Regions from separate parts of the Homo sapiens genome. Here region 2 is linked to region 1. The links are contacts of gene promoters, found by promoter capture Hi-C in blood cells and fetal thymus (Javierre and others, 2016). All regions are on one chromosome and are shown on one strand. The core of a region is centred on a gene start or on the middle of the fragment in contact, and the rest is flanking DNA. Distances in the headings are between cores, read along the strand shown.

The links. The method cuts DNA at HindIII sites, captures the fragments that hold promoters and counts their contacts. A CHiCAGO score of 5 or more calls a contact.
Region 2: a fragment that was not itself captured here is called in contact with the fragment with the promoter of OR2S2 in region 1 in 1 of 17 cell types (endothelial precursors); the score reaches 5.9 in endothelial precursors.

Annotation. Positions count from the first base shown.
Region 1 is chr9:35,956,256-35,960,347 of GRCh38, forward strand. OR2S2 (olfactory receptor family 2 subfamily S member 2) reads right to left here and starts at 1,899. Exons shown (of 1, transcript NM_019897.2): 1 at 853-1,899. The coding sequence starts at 1,843. The coding sequence ends at 884. The HindIII fragment of the contact is 3,590 bases long and covers 233-3,822 here.
Region 2 is chr9:36,185,888-36,189,979 of GRCh38, forward strand. No RefSeq gene overlaps it. Among named protein-coding and RNA genes, the nearest start is that of CLTA, 3.0 kb to the right of the region's middle. The HindIII fragment of the contact is 2,236 bases long and covers 1,692-3,927 here.

The sequences.
Region 1 (4,092 bases), core at 649-3,148:
CTGAGGGATGAGGCTTGCTTAAACCTGGGAGGCAGAGGTTGCAGTGAGCCGAGACTGCACCACTGTACTCTCGTCTGGGTGACACAGCGAGACTCTGTCTCAAAAAAAAAAAAAAAAAAGAAATTAGACCCAAAGTCTTCAAACATGTGTAGCCACCATCTGTCTACTTCTATCTATATCTATCTACCATCATCTTTTTTCTAGAACATGATTTGGCATCTATCAGAATACAAGCTTTGCTGTTGTGAAATTCTGTAAGAACGTCAAATTTGAACTCATTACTCCTTGAATTTTATTTAATTTACTAGGTGGTGTTCAATGATCTGCAGTGCATCAGGAAAAAATAGCCTAAATTTTCTCATAGCTAAAAAGATATTCAGTCATCAAAATAGATTATTCACAACTAAAAGCTCCCTAAGTGAAGAACTTACCTTTTCTTAGCCATTCAGGCAAACTGAGTGTAATAAACTGAAGCCTCAGTAAAAGTTTCCACTCCCTCCTTATTTCTCTGATTTCCCTGGTGAATCCAGTAGGGCTGGTAAGTTGCTGTGAGAACATTCTCACGTCCCTGTTCTAACTCTAGAGCTGAGACACTCTAAGGGCCATGCGTCATGCTTTCATGGCTGCTGTCTCGTGTGGTTTTACCGTATGTTCAGAATGCCTTCATCACAGTTGATTATTTATTGAGTCTGGTGTCTGTTGAAGCTGTCAGACATAGGACTAAAACTCAGGAGATATCGTCTGAAAAGTTTAATATCTCCTGCAAATGGACTTAGAGTGAGAAACCATTATAGGTCACATGACTTGGCTTTTGAATGGCAGCTGATGTGATTGTGATTCCTTACTTCCATGTGGGTGACAATCACAGAGGACCCTTCCACCATCACTGAGTGAAGCCTTTTGGTCTCAGCAGTCTCCTCACAGCAGCCTTCACATCCTTGTTCCTCAGGCTATAGATGATGGGGTTGAGCATCGGGGTCACCACCCCATAGAAAAGGGGGATGAGTTTGTCTGAAAGATCCTCTTTGTCTGCTCCCATGGAGTCCTTAGACTTAGGCTTCCCATACATGAAGAATAAGGTCCCGTAGAAGACGATCACCACGGTGAGGTGGGCAGAGCAGGTGGAGAAGACCTTTTTCCTCCCCTCAGCTGAGGGGATCCTCAGGATGGTGGTGATGATGAAGACATAGGAGAAAGAGATGAACAGAACCGGGACTCCTAGGAAGATCACATTCGTCACCTCCATGCTGATCACATTGATGGAAATGTCAGCACAGGCCAACTTTAGAACAGCCAGAATCTCACAGGTGAAGTGGTTGATGACATTGTCTCCACAGAAGGGCAGCTGAATTGCCAAGGATGTGTGTACCACGGAAGCAGCACCACCAATAGCCCAGGAGCTGGCAGCCATGGGCATGTAGGCAGCCTTGCTCATGATCACGGAGTACCTAAGGGGGTTGCAGATGGCCACATAGCGATCAAATGCCATCATGCTCAGGAGCAAGCACTCTGTTCCTGCCATGGCAAAGGAGAGTGCCATCTGCACAGCACAGGCTGAGAAGGAGATGGTTTCCTGGGGAGTCAAAAAGCTGTCCAGGACCAGTGGGACTGAGGAGGTAGTGAAGCAGATGTCCAGGAAGGAGAGGTTCCCTAGGAAGAAGTACATGGGCGTGTGCAGGCGGGAGTCAAGGATGGTCACCAGGATGAGGACCCCATTGCCCAGCAGGATCACGAGGTACATCAGCAGGATGAGCACGAAGAATGTCTTTTCCAGCTCTGGGTGGGCAGAGAGCCTCAGGAGAACGAACCCCATCACAGGGGAGGTCTCATTGGCTTTTTCCATGTGATATCCCCTCTGCCATCAGCAAAGTACTGAGCAGCGCATCAGGCTTTTTGGGAAGAGTCCTAGGCATCTAATATGTGGTCAAGTTCCCATTGCATAATAGAAGAACATATCTGTGCAAGAGAAAAATGACGGAAAGAGACAGTAGGGGGTGTCTTAGAAGACAGAAGGTCAGAGCTGGACAGGTAGTGGGTGAGGGCCTCAAATGTCCGGTTGTGCATGAGGGATTTTTCTGAAGTTGCTGCACCCTCTCAGTGTCCACAAAGGTGATAGAGGCCTGGGGAGGAGAAGTGACCTGTCCAAATCTTCTGAGCAAGTTGGTGACAGAGACAAGACTTGAACCCAGCAGAGCATATCCCTGGCCCAAGGAGGGCTTTTCCTCTTCATTGTGATTAAGTGCTAGGAAATGCTATGAATTATTTCTCTTTAATGCAAATCCACAGCAATTTCATTTGATCTGGGCTTTCTTAGATTCTCAGAGAGGAAAATTCCCAAGAAGATGCAATTCTTGGACCTAGCAAGTGATTAAGTTTCTTTAAACTTTGATTACACGTGGGGAGGAAATTGCGCAAAATTGTTCAACCATATTCACACAGAAACAAGCCTAGTTAATATTCAGCCATAAAGAGCATTACTTCTTCAGTCTAGTGACACAGGCTTGAGCATTGACAGGAATAGATCTGCCTATTTGAAATATGGATTTATTGCAATATATGGGGAGGTCCTATAGCTGGGAAATTTATGAAGCCAACAAATGGATTTGTTGGAGTGACTGAACTCACACCATGAGACAACACTGTGTAGCTTACCAGTTAGTTAATGCAATATTAATAACCACACTCTAACTATAGTTATCGATAGTAGAGTATATGGCATTAACTTCTGATCCCATCTCATTAGGATGTCTGTGAAATTCCTAACCGTGAATGACTAAGAATGTTTTTTCTTTGTCCTTTTATGTTTGCATTTTATTCTTGCATTATCTTCTGACTCTCTGACTCCATTCTTGAGTTCTATGCAAGCAGCTGGCTTATAGGAAGACTTATATGCCTTTGTATAGAGGATATCTAGTCTCTTACTTGCAATTTCCCTGACTCTAAATTCAAAGTACTCATAGATAATATTTTGATAGCTCCTTCTTAATGACAGTGGCTCTATGAGTGTGTATAAGAGTGGGTGGATGATGGAAGATGAGTGGTTAATATTAATATTAGTGAGAATATTAGGGATTCTCACTAATATTAAGGAATATAAGCTGTGCCATATTTCTTGAAACAGCTCATGGAGAAGATATTATCATTCAGGTTTTACAGGTGAAGTAACTGGAGCTCAGAAGATAAATTTGCTCCTTGGGGTTGAATGGCAGAGCTGGAGTTGGATTCCAAGACCTAGTCCTGAGTTCTTTCACGAAACAGCTGCTTTTCTCTTTTGGTGCACAGCTTTGCAAAAGATTCTGTCCCTCCAATATTAGACAGATCTTATAGTCCTATTTATAATTTTCTCTGTGCTAATATTGCTATAGCATAATGATAAATTAAAAGGACAAAGTCAAACTTGTACACACTGTTATGATCTCAATTAGCTCTGTGTATTCTCTGGCCAGTCTCACTGTCTGTCCAACACTCTCTCTTCAGTCATGGGGGAGGGTTTATGTCAGATGTGTTGTCAGGCAGTGCACCTCCCACCCTAAATGGAACTCAGGGTTTCTCAAATTCTTTACGATTGACATTTTGTGCTGGATAACCCTTTGGTGTGAGGGCTGTCCTGTGCATTGTAGGATGTTTAGCAGAGTCTCTGACCTCCACCAATCAGTTGCCAATAGCACCTTCTACCCTGAGTTGTAACAATCAAAATGTTTCCAGACGCTGCCACATGCTTCCAGGGGAAAGGTGTGTGTGTTGGGGCGGGGGGGGGGGGGTTGGCGGGGGGGACGGTGCAAAATTATACCCAGAAGAGAACGATTGGTCTAACCCAGGAGAAGCTTCCCCCATTACACAACCATGGGTCTCAAGGTATTTCCTGTGCAATCCTATTCCCCTCTTCCCATCCCTTCATACAGCACAGAAGGGTGTTCCTGGTTGCTCAGTGCAAGCTGACCCCCTCTGAGTGCCCCACCCTGAACTTCCACCCCAGCTTATCTCCTGTTCCTCCTAGTGCACCTCTCACCCACTCCAGAAAATGAAGAAAAGCAAACATTATATTCAGTGCCACAAACCAGATTCAAGCAGATGCTGTGGTTGCAGAGGCCA
Region 2 (4,092 bases), core at 1,560-4,059, 230 kb after region 1:
AAAATTAATTTCTGCTGTTTAAGCCACCCAATCCATGGTGTTTTGTTCCCCAGCATATGGATATATATACATGTATACATATTATGCATCTTCTATTGATTCTGTTTCTCTGGAGAACCCTGACTAGAACAATACAGTCCTTCTAGGTCTTTCTTGGCCATCATCTATTGAGTTTCCCCTTGGTGGTTCTAAACCTCTCCTCTCTTTTCTACTGGTTCTCACTTTACTGGAGCAATTGAGTCCCTCAGAGTTGTCCTCAGCCTTGTCTCTGCCTCTAAAATCCTCCCTCCTTAGCCCATCCTTCCCACCACCTCTCCTTCTTCTATGACTTCAACCTCTATCTTCGGCATACAAATGTATTCAAGCATTCAAGTCTCTCTTACCTAAACATCACCCCAACCTTAGAGCCCTCTCTAGCCACAGCTCTCCCTCCTTTCCTCCTTTCCCCTTTCCTTTTTTTTTTTTGAGATGGAGTCTCACTCTGTACCCAGGCAGGAGTGCAGTGGGATGATCTCAGCTCACTGCAACCTCCACCTCCCAGGTTCAAGCAATTCTCATGCCTCAGCCTCTCCAATAGCCGGGACTACAGGCACATGCCACCATGTCCGGCTAATTTTTATATTTTTAGTAGAGGTGAGTTTTTGCCATGTTGGCCAGGCTGATCTTAAACTCCTGGCCTCAAGTGATCTGCCCGCCTCAGCCTCCCAAAGTGCTGGGATTATAGGCATGAGCCACCATGCCCGGCCCTCATTGCAAACCTTTTTTTTTTTTTTTTTTTTTTTTTTGAGACGGAGTTTCACTCTTGTTGCCCAGACTGGAGTGCAATGGCGTGATCTCGGCTCACCGCAAACCTCCGCCTCCTGGGTTCAAGTGATTCTCCTGCCTCAGCCTCCCGAGTTAGCTGGGATTACAGGCATGTGCCACCACACCCAGCTAATTTTGTATTTTTAGTAGAGACGGGGTTTCTTTATGTTGGTCAGGCTGGTCTCGAACCCCTGACCTCAGATGATCCACCCTCCTCGGCCTCCCAAAGTGTTGGGATTACAGGTGTGAGCCACGGTGCCCGGCTGCAAAGTTTTCTAATGTCTTCTACATTTAAATTTGCCCTCACTTCTCATTCTATATTAGGCAAAATTCTTTTTTTTTTTTTTTTTTTTTTGAGACAGAGTCTCACACTGTTGCCCAGGCTGGAGTGCAGCAGCGTGATCTCGGCTCACTGCAACCTCCGCCTCCTGGGTTCAAGCGATTCTCCTACCTCAGCCTCCTGAGTAGCTGGAATTACAGGTGCACACTACCATGCCTGGCTAATTTTTGTATTTTTAGTGGAGACGGGGTCTCACAATGTTGTCCAAGCTGGTCTCGAACTCCTGACCTCAAATGGTCCACCCATCTTGGCCTCCCAAAGTGCTGGGATTATAGGCGTGAGCCACTGTGCCTGGCCTGGATTAGGCAGAATTCTTTATGACAGAAACACAACTCAAAATTGTCTTAAGGGGAAAAAAAATAGAATTTATTTGTTCACAGAGCCAAAAAGTACAGAAGTAGATCTTTCACTTCAAGCATGGCTGAATCCAGGTCCTCAATGATACCAACAGGAAGTTGTCTTTCTCACTCTCTGCATTCCTCCATGTTGACCTCATTCTCACTCTCAATCTCTCCTCTTGATGACAAGATGACCACAAGAAGCTCTAAGCTTACACTTTGCCTGCTTGTCAGCTCCAGCAGAAAGAGTTAGCTCTTTCCCTAAGATTCTAGTAACAGTCCTGGAATTGAGCCTCATGAGCCTGGTTTGACTCACTTGTCCATTCCCAATCATTTGGGCAGGGAATGGGATGTTCTAATTGGCCAGGCCTGGGTCACATGGGGGTGGTCCACTCAATCCAAACCACAAAACTGAAAATGAGGAAGAATGGTTCCCCAAAGGAATATTGGAGTGCTGGTATCAGAACAAAGGGAATTGGATGTAGGCAGGCAGAACCAACAGATGTCCACTATGCTTCCATCCCTCAACCTAGTGCAAACTGATTTCCACTCCTGGCATCCACTGACATCTCTCTCACCAAGGTGACCAGGGAACTTGATGGCCAAGAGCATCTGCTCAGCTCTCATTCTTCACCTTTCTGCTAGTCACTCCTTCCTTCTGCAAACTCTGCTTGACTTCCATCACCCAGCTCTAACTGAACCCTCTCCAATCTCTCTGACCCACCCCTCTACCTCCTTCACATATAGCCATCCTCCAAGATTTAGGCCTCAGTCCTTCCCTCTCTAGTCTCCATCTGTGGTCCCACTCTCTCCTATACACACTTCTGTTGGGAGCCGAAAAGGCCAAAGGGATCGTGACCAACTCAGCATTCCACTGGAGGCTATATGATCAAACAGCAAACTGTTTATCATGAATGTAGGATGTGAGCAAACACACTGCACCTGCCACCAAAAGGTTTGCTGATGGACATCACTCCTTGGTGCAGGGCTCCTTGAAGTTATCTAAGAAATCTAGCACCTATTGTTCAAAAGATGCAGTCTCACAAGCCTGCTGTGAACCAAACCTCTAACTGACAATTACCGACAATCACCCCCCCTTTCTCGCTCTCTTTTGCCTACGAAATACGGAGGGATGTGTAAAACTCAGGGCCCTTGTCCACTAGAGGCAAAGTGCCCCCTGACCCCTTCTTCCAAATATACTCTTTTGTCTTGTCTTTTATTCCCATTGCCCACCCACCTTTGTTCAGTCCACCAGGGATCATGGCAGGCTACACACTTCTAGTTCCTGGACATCTTCTAAATCTTCTGTCTCCCAGCAATCACCTGGGCTCCCCCAAAGCCCTCAAACTAATGGTTCTGGCAATTTCACAGATTCATGATTTATGACCCCATCCTTTCCCCTTGCCTTTTTCCCAGCCCGTACCTCTGGTCGGTCACCAAGTTAGTCACTTCCCTACTGGGACCCGCTTTCCCATCAACGCTCCCCACTCAGCTCCATACCTCTGCCCTGCCCAGACCTTCATCATGTCACTCCTGACATCTCTGCCCACAGCCTCTGCCCCATCCATCCTGCAACCAGGGACCCGATTAACCTCCTAAGCAGCAGTTGATCAAAACATTCCTTTATCTGAAACCTTCTATGGTTCCTTATTGCCATTAAGATTCCTTAACATGGAATGCTTTCAGGGCTCCAGAATCTGTCCCCAGATTTTCCTTCAATTATTCATCTTGCTGAGCTCTTCAGACTCCAACTAATTTACTCACTGTCCCCAAAACATGCCAAACATTTTCCCACCTCTGAACTTTTACATGACACTAACATTAGACCCTCATTATTGACTCTTCTAAACGTTCCCCATATTTCAAAACTGAGCTCCAAGCCACCTCTGTGAAATCATCCGTAAACACATCAGCTATTCCTCCAATTTTGAGTGTATACTTGTTTGTTGCTTTTGCATAATATGTAATGCCTCCTCTAGCAAGGGAATCACAGGAGAGTTTCTCCCAAAGTCATGCATTTCCCCAAAAAGAATGCTGTCTGTTCCGGAGCTACTACTGTTGTGAGCAACTAAAAGTTGTCTTCCTTGGGCTCTCTCATAGTAGTCCCTGCCCCTCTTTTCCTCATGAGACTATGTCAAGGCTAATGTGAAAATACTTCATGCACTGTTGCCAATGTATGTTAGGGATGAGCATAAAACAACAGACAAGGGGAAACAGAATCAATTGCAGACCCTAACATTTTAACTTTCTTAAATGTTTTTCTTCAACACTTTCCTATGGTTCATACTTTAAATGACTTTAAAATTATGCTTTAAGTAAATATATGCTTTAAATAATTTTTATTTGCTTCATTTTTCCTTCATAGCTATCCCTTTTTTTTTGTCATCAAAGATATGTGCGTTTTTTATAAAAACACTTTCTTGTCCCCTGCTGACTACCTCTGGAAGCTTCTTGTTGACCTCTGGTTTTTTGGTTTCTTTTTTTGGCTTTTCATTTCTTAGGGTGGTGGTGGTGGTAGTGAAGGAGAGGGGTCTTCTGGTGGCCCCTGCATAAGCACTCCCCCTCAACATGAGCATGATTAACTGGAACCACTGTTATTTCTGTGGTGTA